Regions from separate parts of the Homo sapiens genome. Here regions 1 and 3 are each linked to region 2. Evidence: promoter capture Hi-C in human tissues and cell types (Jung and others, 2019). All regions are on one chromosome and are shown on one strand. Each heading gives the region's core, a stretch centred on a gene start or on the middle of the fragment in contact. The rest is flanking DNA. Distances are from core to core; before and after follow the strand shown. Region 1 holds the start of CYP4F22 (cytochrome P450 family 4 subfamily F member 22). Region 2 has its middle 3.8 kb from the start of CYP4F8. Region 3 holds the start of OR10H2 (olfactory receptor family 10 subfamily H member 2).

Region 1 (3,220 bases), core at 92-2,591, 100 kb after region 2:
GGAAGGAAGGAGAGATGGGTCCCATTCCCTGAATGCCTCTCAAGTCATCCAAGCCCCTCTGCAGATACCAACCTGGGTCACCGCCAGACACCAGGCCAGAGTTAATGTTACTGTTCAGAAACCCAAGCTGGGCCATTTGGTGATGCCGGGGACATCGGAAAGTGGACTGAGGCTTTGGGGTCAAACAGGGCTTGTTTTTTCAAATCCCAGCTCTCCCACTGGGCACTGGGTATCCACAGGCACAGGCTTCTTCTCTCTGGCCCTCAGTTTCCGTGCCTGTAAAATGAGGGTGGTAGGGAAGATTTGGGGAGGTTCCTTCTCTTTGGGGTTTGGAGTTACACAAGAAGGAGTTTGATGCTGCCAGCCCTGGCTGGGCACAGCTCCAGGACCTAGAAATAAGGGGTGGAGCAAGGGGCACAGGGTAGGAGGAATTTCGGGTACGCAGCCAGCCCTGGCCATCTCCTTTGCCTACAGGGCGGTGAGACTCACAATGAGTGCATGAATGAGCTGTGAGCGGGCAGATGAACCAGGAGAGATGCCCTGAGCCTAGGCCTCTCCAGCCTGCGACTCCCCAGGTGGCCAGCCTCGGCCAACTTGCATACCCAGGCTGGGCCAGGCCCCTGGGAGGCCAGAAAACATCTTCCTTCCAGCATCTATCAGACGAAGATCACCTGGGACCAACCCCAGGACCTCACACAACCCTCAGAGCCAACTCTCGGGGCCAGAAGAACACCGTCTTTTCATAGAGGGGCTCTGCGTCTGGCATGGATGGGCAGAGGGTTCCTGATAGCAGTTGAACCACAAGCCTAACCCCATCGGTTGAATGTACTACAACCTCCCCGTCAAGACAACGTGCAGTGGTGAAATCTCAGGGCGAATCCCCATTCAGCCCCAAAGAGGCGTCCCAGGGCGGGGCTTGAACCCATCTGGGATGTCCTGACTACCAGAGGGGTCTTTTGGAGGCCCCCTGCCCATCACAGATACCCAGAGAAAAGGATGCGCCTAGGACTCCGAGGCGCACACAGAAAAAAAAAAAAAGAAAACAACTCACAAATGCAGCAAACGTCGGGGACACACCCACGTGCCCCTCTCCCCACGAGTGCCCCGGGCATGCAGCCCCGTCCTGGGTCCTGGGGGGGTCCCCGTGGCCGGCTGCGCCCCGCCCGCCGCCGCGCGCAGACCTTCGCCCTTGCCCCGCCAGCACCGAACCGCGCGAGCCTCGGGTTCCAGCGCAGCGCCGCGGCCGCGCTCAGGTTACAGCCCTCACCACGCGCGCACTCACCCGCGGGTCTCAGCCTCCTGCCCTCGATCCGGATCCACCGGCGCCACTACCTGGGATCTGACCGCGCCGTCCCACGGCCCAACCCTTTAACCCCGCCCGGCCGTGCCGAGGGGTCCGCCCCCGGACATCCCGCCCCGGGCTCCCGCAGGGTTCTGGGCGGGGACTCCAGCGCTGCCCCCTAGAAAAGGAGAGAACAAGAAATAGGCGTGTGGAGGGGTGGAGAGCGATGGAAAGAGAGAGAGACTGAGACTGAGATGGAGAGATGAAGAGAGACAGAGACTTGGACACCTAGAAGTCCCAAACCATCAGGCTCCCCGCCCTCCTGCCACTGCTGGGCCGCATTAGCGCCCAAGTCCCGCTCTGGACCACACTCCTCCCACACCAACACCCCCCATGGCCCTTACTTCCAGGTTTGCTCCCAAGCTTGGACAGCGATCTCTAAACCATCACCCCCTGGGGCCCCACTGACCCCCCCGAGAAGCCTCCTCTGGGGCCCTCAGGAATTCTCTGGCTCCACCAGCCCTTGGGAACCAGCCCTTCCCCTCTCTCTGGATCCTGGGCCTAAGCTTCCCCGGCACCCACCCCTGGAGGCTCTGCAGCCTCTTCCTCCAGGAAGACCTCCAACCTCAACAAGCAGCACCAGACTGGTTCTGCTCCCCGCCAACCCGCCCTCCGCCACTCCTCCCCACCCACTGCCAGACACCTTGACCCTCTGACCAGGATGTTGTCCTTGGCCAACCCGTCTACTCCAGATGTGTGGAGACAGAGTCAGCTCCGCCTCTGGATGTGTCTGTCCTCCGGAGTCGGTGGGTGGATGTGTGGCTGACCTTAGCACGTGGGCAGACAGATGAGAAGACAAGAATCTCCACTTGCCCCAGCAGGTGGTAAACTTAGAAGACTTCCTTATCCCTCTTTTTTCTAAGAATACGCTCTCATTTGGTGCTGGGCCCTTGGAAAGAGGGCGTGGGAGGTGTGGGGCATGTCTCCTGGTGAAGAAGAGGAGACACAAGTAATTGAAGTTTTGCTGCTTGGAGGAGGCAGACATGAGGTCAGGGAAGGCGACGTGGAGGATGTGACACTTGAGCTGGGACTGCATGGAGAGGTTGGATTTCAACAAGTGCAGGAGAGGGGGTAGAGCTCAAGCACAGAGAAACTGGAGGGTGTGACTTAGCAGATGGCTTTCCCTGGCCTTGGAGTGTGAGAGGTGTGGAGGCTGGAGGGATGCAGGAGTTGACTGTGAAGGCCAGTTTGAATGGCTGGATCTTGATCTGGTGGGCAGTGGGGAGCCATGGATGGTGCTTGAGTAGGGGAGGTGCCCCCTGTTAGTTGATTGGTCTCACTCTGTCATCCAGGCTGGGGTGACTCCTGGGCTCAAGCCATCCTCCTGCCTCAGCCTCCTGGGTAGTTGGGACTACAGACACGTGCCACCACACCCAGCTAATTTTTTTTTTTCATTTTTTTAGAGACAGGGTCTCACTATGTTGCCCAGGCTGGTCTCAAACTCCTGGGCTCAAGCCATTCTCCCAGCTCCTAGAACTTTTAAAAAAAAATATTTATATTTATTTGTGTCTTTAATCTTTTTTACTTCTGAGGAAGAGCTTATTTTATTAATTTTTTATTCATAATTAACGCAGCATGAAAGCCTATTTTTTAGGGATATGAATTTTGTTTTGCCAGTAATTCTGGCCAAGGGGGAGCTTACTAGAAGCACTTTGGAAAATGCAGAGATCCACATAGAGTGAAGTTTGAGAGGGACCCCTCCAGTGGCTGCAGGGGACAGAGACAAAGGGTGGGGGTAGCTGAGACCCAGGAAGGGGTTAAGGATGAGGTCCCGGAGGTCATCTCCACTGACCACTGGCTAAATACGGGGTTCTAGGGAAGAGAGAAGGAAAAGAAGCCATCTGCCTGGCTTCTCTGCTCTCAAAGAGCTGGAGACCA
Region 2 (3,397 bases), core at 534-3,033:
GGGAGGGGAGTCACTCATGGGAAAACAGAAGCTGGTGCTTCTCTGCAGGGGCCCTTCCACCCCTACCCAGAGTGGGGCAGTGGGAAAGTGCACCAGACCACAGAGTGACCAGCCTCAGTCACCACCCATCAATTCCTAAGCCTAAGTCTTCACATCTGACAAATGTGTCTCCTAAAGCATCACAAAGCATTGCCAGCATTCTATCAGACACAGGGAGAGAGAGCAGAGAATAAGTTCCAAATTAAAGATGTGAGTAATGGTCCCATCAATATAAAAAACGTACGAGTGTATGTGTATGTGTCTGTATGTACACATGTGTATGCACACTGAAAAAAATCCAGAAGAATGCACATACCACGATGGAATTGGAGAAATTACAATTGGAGTAGAAACCTTTTAACTTTCTACACGTCTCTGTTGCTTCGTTTTTCAAGCTGGGATGCTATAAATGTAATAATTAAAACAATTTTTTTTTTCCTCTGAAGTCCTTGTCCTTTATTGGGCAAGGGGTGAGGGAAGCAGACAGACCGGTTGGACACAGTAGATGGGTGTGTGAGGACAAAATGCTACCAGAAAGCCAGCCAATCCACACTCCCCTGAAATGGATGCTAACGCCCTTCAAACCCTGGGCATTGGTTTCATACACAGCCTCTTCCAGGGATAAAAGGGGTTCTTGTACAGCTTCTTGTTACCCTCAACCATGGAGGCAAGTTCTGAGTTCTGGTTTTCCTAGGACACTAACTCTAGTCACAAAGATCTCTGGAGTGATCACACATGGTGGAGTGGCAGGGTGAATATTTCAAAAGGATAAGTAGAACAGGAGTCTTGCCCAAGCCCTGTCATGTCAGTGTCTGTGTGTGGCCTCCCAGCCCAACCAGAAATTGACAGAGAGGCATGTATATGGTGAAAAGATATATATATATATATTCAGAATTAGGCAGCTGCACTCAGTTTAGATAATCCCAATTTTGTTGGCAACATCCAAAGCATCGTAATCAGGAGTCAGTCGAACATATACCTTCTTCTCTCCATCAGGCCGAATCAGGGTGTTGACCTTGGCCACATCAATGTCATAGAGCTTCTTCACAGCCTGTTTGATCTGGTGCTTGTTGGCTTTAACATCCACAATGAACACAAGTGTGTTGTTGTCTTCTATCTTCTTCATGGCAGACTCAGTGGTCAGCGGAAACTTGATGATAGCATAGTGGTCAAGCTTGTTTCTCCTGGGAGCGCTCTTCCGAGGATATTTGGGCTGTCTCCGGAGTCGCAGTGTCTTCGGCCGCCGGAAGGTGGGTGACGTGTGGATCTTCTTTTTGTGGCTGTGGACACCTTTCAACACTGCCTTCTTGGCCTTTAAAGCCTTCGCTTTGGCTTCGGCTTTAGGAGGGGCAGGAGCTTCCTTCTTCACTTTCGGCACCATCTTGTGAAAAGGGTCCAAAACAAATTTTTTTAAATAAATAAGGATTTGGTACAGTGGGGACACAGTTGATCCACAACATAGGTGAGTAGTTCTGTTTCGTTTTGTTTTGTTTTGCTTTGCTTTGTTTTTTGAGACAGAGTCTCACTTTGTCACCCAGGCTGGAGGGCAATGGTGCCAATCTCGGCTCACTGAAACCTCCGCCCCACCAGGTTCAAGCGATTATCCTACCTCAGCCTCCCGAGCAGCTGAGATTACAGGCATGAGCCACCACACCCAGCTAATTTTTGTATTTTTAGTAGAGACAGGGTTTCACCATATTGGCCAGGCTGGTCTCCAACTCCTGACCTCAAGTGATCCAACCACCTCGGCCTCCCAAAGTGCTGGGATTACAGGCGTGAGCCACTGCGCCCAGCCAATAGGTGAGTTGTTCTTACTGTGTCACCATGAAGACCCAGCTCCCAGGAATCGGCCTGCAGTCTCCCTAGAACAAGCACACGGGCTGCCCACTAGCTGGAGTTTCACCTTCCCTGTCCTTGAATGCTCAGGAAGGAACACATTCTGGCTTCAGCACAACTGAGTTCAAGTCCAGGCTCTGCCACTCACTAGCTGTGTAACCCTCTGAGTCTCATAGCCTCCTCGATAAAATGCAAAGGTCAAGTTCTAACTTTTAGGTAATTAGTTTCTCAACAACAAACTTCACATGAACACTTAAATGGTAGCAGGCATGGTGCTAGGACCTGGGACACAGGTTGAACAAGACAGACGTGGTCTCTGCTGATAACCTACCAGTCACATTAGTCCCAATTAGCCCCCGGAAAAGATCTCTTGATGCATGGGTTACATCCTGTTCCTGAGTAAAGAATCTTGTGAGTTCCTCAAATCTTATCTTTAATTACTCAGATCTTATGAGTTCTTCCAACTGTTGATGTTCTGATTTTCCACTGATATGGAAAAGCACAATCCTTTGTTTCTAAACCATGAAGTTTTGCTTTATATTTATAAATCATAAAGTTTTTCTTTTCTTTTCTTTTTTTTTTTGAGACAGGGTCTTTGTCACCCAGGCTGGAGTGCAGTGGCGCAGTCTCATCTTACTGCAACCTCCATCTCCTAGGTTCAAGCAACCTTCCTGCCTCAGCCTCTCGAGTTGTTGGGATTGCAGGCATGTGCCACCATGCCCAGCTAATTTTTGTATTTTTAGTAGAGCAGAGTTTCACCATATTGGCTAGGCTGGTCTCGAACTACTGGCCTCAGGAGCGATGAGCTTCTCCTCAAGGGATCTGCCCGTCTCAACCTCCCAAAGTGCTGGGATTACAGGCATAAGCCACTGTGCCCTCTCTTATAAAGTTTCACTGATGGTTTTACATACAAAATGTTTTAGCCTGTATGTTATAACCTGTATCTAATCATTATGACCTCTGTATTATACCCTCCAATAAAAACAGACAATTCTGATATAAGAAGTTCCCTTCTCTTCTCCTAAACTTTCTTATAAAAACATTCCAAATTGTAAAAGATTCTGGCACACATCCAAATGTGTTGGTGCATCTTTCTGGGTTGATCCTCACCTTTGGCTTCAAATAAACCCTTATCAAAGTATTTCTGCCTCGGCAGCTTTAATTTCACTCCACAAAATGATGTAGTCATCAGTGTTTCAGAGTGGCCTCCCTGGTCACCCTGGACCTTCCTGAGCAGGTTTCAACCTTCATGCACGGAATCCATCGTGTTCCCCCAACTGGGATGCCCCTGCTGGATGCAACAGATAAGTTTCTCCTGAAATCAACGAACTTCCTGTTTTAGGCAAAGTTCTGCCTTATTGAAGCTGCTTTCCCCCTTGGCTAGGAGGTGCAGTGATGTTCTCAGAATAAGAGCTACTGCTACAAATTTAAGGTAAGGGTTTTTGTTGAATTCTAGGGCAGGGTAAAATAGGATCTTTGTGAATGGTTTCTCTAGGGGGTTGGGGAGAGACAAACTTTCCTT
Region 3 (3,437 bases), core at 882-3,381, 120 kb before region 2:
GCAGTGAGCCAAGATCATGCCACTGCACTCCAGCCTAGGTGACAGGGTGAGACTCTGTCTTGAAAAAAAAAAAAGATGATGTACTGATACAAGCTACAATGTAGGAGAACTTCAAAAACATTATGCTCAGTGAAACAATTCATCTGAAAATAAAAGAATTATATTTACAGTTGTCCATTGATGTGAAACGTCCAGAAAAAGCAACTCTAACCAGACAGAAAGATTAGTGGCTCCCTAGGGCTGGAGGGCATGGAGATTTGGAGGAAACAGAGAGTGACTGATAATGAGTATGGGTTGTTTGTTTGTTTGAGACAAGGTTTGGCTCTGTTGCCCAAGTCAGAGTTCAGTGGTGATCATGGCTCACTGCAGCCTCGAACTCCTGGATGCAAGCAATCCTCCCACATCAGCCTCTGGAGTAGCTGGGGCTACAGGAATGTGCCACCCCATTTAGCTAATTATCAGAATTTTTGTGTGTGTCAGGAAGGGGAACATCACAGACTGGGGCCTGTTGTGGGGTAGGGGGAGTGGGGAGGGATAGCATTAGGAGATATACCTAATGTTAAATGACAAGTTAATGGGTGCAGCACACCAACATGGCACATGTATATGTATGTAACTAACCTGTACGTAGTGCATATGTACCCTAAAACTTAAAGTGTAATAAATTAAAAAAAAAAGAACTTGTGTGTGTGTATGTGTTTGTGTGTGTGTGTAGATGGCATCTCACTATGTTGTCCAGACCGATCGTGAATTCCTGACATCAAACAATTCTCCCACTCAGCCTTCCAAAGCACTAGGATTTGGGTTTCTTTTTTGGATGACTAAAATACTCTAAGCCAGATTGTCATGATGGTTGCATAACTCTGAATACGCAAAAACCACAGAAATGTGCGCTCTAATGGGTACATTGTATGGTAGGTGAATTACATCTTAATAAAGCTACTATAACTCAAAAATTAAAACTCAGATAAAGACATACAGATCAAGAGTTGTGGAAGTAAACATGCTTTTAACATTTACTGAGCACCTACTATGTGATGAGTGTTGTCATATACAGAAATCTTTACACCTGCCTTACAAGGTAAGCATTACTAGCCACACTGTGCAGACAAGGTGATGGTCATCCTCCTATCATATTCTATCAGCACTTCCACACCAGCTACTCAGGTGCCTGAGGAATAGAGTGTGCTGAGGAAGGTCCTCTTCATGGCAACCTTCAGTTCTTTGTTCCTGAGGCTGAAGATGATGGGGCTGAGGAAGGGCGTGAGGACTGCGTAGGTGGTGGCCATCAGGGTGTCACCCTCCTGAGAGTGGGGACCTTTGGGCTTGAGGTAGATGACAGAGGCAAAGCCATAGTGCACAATGACCACAATAAGGTGAGAGGCACAGGTGGAGAAGGCCTTGTTCCGACCTTCAGCAGAAGGGATCTTCAAGATGTCGGCCACGATGAAGGCATAGGAGAGGAGGATGAGGAGAAAACAGCCCAGCAGTGCCATGATACATACCAAGCCCACGCCCAGGGCCACAGCTGGTACATTATTTCCACAGGCCAACTTCAACAGAGGTGGCACATGACATAAAAAATGCTGGATCTCATGGGATCCACAGAAAGTCAGTTGGAAAATGGCCGAGGTCACCACCATCCCCATGACCGAGCCACCAGCCCAGGAGCAGCCCACCAGGCAGGCGCAGCCCCGTGGGCTCATGAGCACGTTGTAGCGCAGGGGGTGGCAGATGGCCACGTAGCGGTCGTAGCCCATGACGGTGAGCAGGAAGGAGTGGGTGAAGCCGAAGCTGAAGGAGAAGAACATCTGACTGGCACAGGCCAGGAAGGCGATGGAGCGCTGGGTGGACAGCAGGTCGGCCAGCATGCGCGGGATGATGGCCACGGTGTAGAGGATCTCGGAGACTGAGAGGACGCACAGGAAGAGGTACATGGGCGTGTGGAGGCTGCGCTCGCTCCAGACGGTGGCCATGATGAGCAGGTTGCCCAGCAGCGTGAACAGGTACATCAGCAGGAACAGCAGGAAGAGCATCAGTTGGAGGTGGGGGAAGGCAGAGAAGCCGACGAGGATGAATTCAGACATGGAGGTGTGGTTTAGCCCCAGCATGACGGCCACCCCTAGTTGGGGAAGAGAGGAAAGAAGACCCAGTGGTTAGGAGCATGGGGGTGTCTAGTGATTCCTGCCTGGGAGGACATCTGAGAGCGCCTCCTTCATCTGTCCAAGCCATGGTTACTCCATCTGCAGAAAGGCATTAATAATAATGTATTGAGGTTTAAATAAGATCACTCACCTTAAGTGCTTTGTGCAGGTCCTGACACAAAGTAAGAATTTAATAAATTATAAATGTTGATAGTAATAATTATTCTGCTATTGTTATTGCCATCACGATTATTAGATCCATGCACCACCACCTACACCTTGCTTTTCTGCCTTTGTTCATGCTGGTCTTTTCATGCTTTTCCCTATCTTTATGGGTCCAAATCCTACCTGAATTTTATGAGCAAGCTGCTCCCTGATTGCCACCTTCAGCTGGAAGTCATCTCTTCCCTATGTCATGGAAACGTCCAGACTCTGTTTAATTCTCGGCACCACTGCTTTCTAGCTGTGAGATGCAGGGCAGGTTGCTTCCCCTCTCTGAGCCTCATTGCTCCCCTGGAAAATTGAAACCACCTTTGCAAAATTATGACTGAGACAGCGAAAGAGATCTAACTTAACCAACTCCATCTTGCTTCTAACCTCCAAGCTGTCCTTGTTCATTCCAGGACATAGGGTGAACTAACTTTGGGGGAAATTTAGTTTATAGTTTATAGTTTATAGTTTGGAACAAGGACGATAACAGCCCTTTCCCAAAGCAGACCTCCTTCTTGTCTGGGGATTAGATTGCCTTTGTAGAACTAACATTAGCCACAAGATTAGAAATTATGGTTTAGGAGTCATGCAGCTGGAGGCTACAAGATTCTGACCCTCCCTAAATTGCTCCCAAGATCAGTGCTTGAGATATTTTGCAGATCCTGCACTTGATGGATCAGCTGGCACCACCCAGGTCGATAAACTGGCTCAACTGATCTTGTGGCCCCCACCCAGGAACTGACTCTCCGCAAGAAGACAGCTTTGATTTCATCTCTGACCAATCAGCACTGCTGGCTCACTGGCTTCCCCTCCACCCACCAAGTTGTCCTTAAAAACTCTGCTCCCCAAGTGCTCAGGGAGACTGATTTGAGTAATAATAAAACTCCAGTCCCCTGCAGAGCCAGCTCTGTGTGAATTACTCTTTCTCTATCACAATTCCGCTTTTTTTTTTTTTTTTCTTTGAGACAGAGTCTCACTCTGTCCCTGCTGGAATGCAGTGGCATGATCTCGGCTCACTGCAACCTCCGCCTCCTGGGTTCAAGCAATTCTCCTGCCTCCGCCTCCTGAGTAGCTGGGATTACA

The links. Contacts are between HindIII fragments. The study calls those that stand out against the background at their distance.
Region 1: a contact is called between the fragment with the promoter of CYP4F22 here and a fragment that was not itself captured in region 2, in 4 of the 25 tissues and cell types used here (H1 embryonic stem cells, dorsolateral prefrontal cortex, mesendoderm cells and 1 more).
Region 3: the fragment with the promoter of OR10H2 here is called in contact with a fragment that was not itself captured in region 2 in 4 of the 25 tissues and cell types used here (adrenal gland, mesendoderm cells, small bowel and 1 more).

The regions. Positions count from the first base shown.
Region 1 is chr19:15,506,646-15,509,865 of GRCh38, reverse strand. CYP4F22 (cytochrome P450 family 4 subfamily F member 22) reads right to left here and starts at 1,341. Exons shown (of 14, transcript NM_173483.4): 1 at 1,283-1,341. RefSeq lists an enhancer at 1,197-1,697. The HindIII fragment of the contact is 20,579 bases long and covers 1-3,220 here.
Region 2 is chr19:15,609,679-15,613,075 of GRCh38, reverse strand. It overlaps the pseudogene RPL23AP2. Among named protein-coding and RNA genes, the nearest start is that of CYP4F8, 3.8 kb to the left of the region's middle. The HindIII fragment of the contact is 7,491 bases long and covers 1-3,397 here.
Region 3 is chr19:15,726,718-15,730,154 of GRCh38, reverse strand. OR10H2 (olfactory receptor family 10 subfamily H member 2) reads right to left here and starts at 2,131. Exons shown (of 1, transcript NM_013939.2): 1 at 1,103-2,131. The coding sequence starts at 2,111. The coding sequence ends at 1,164. The HindIII fragment of the contact is 21,841 bases long and covers 1-3,437 here.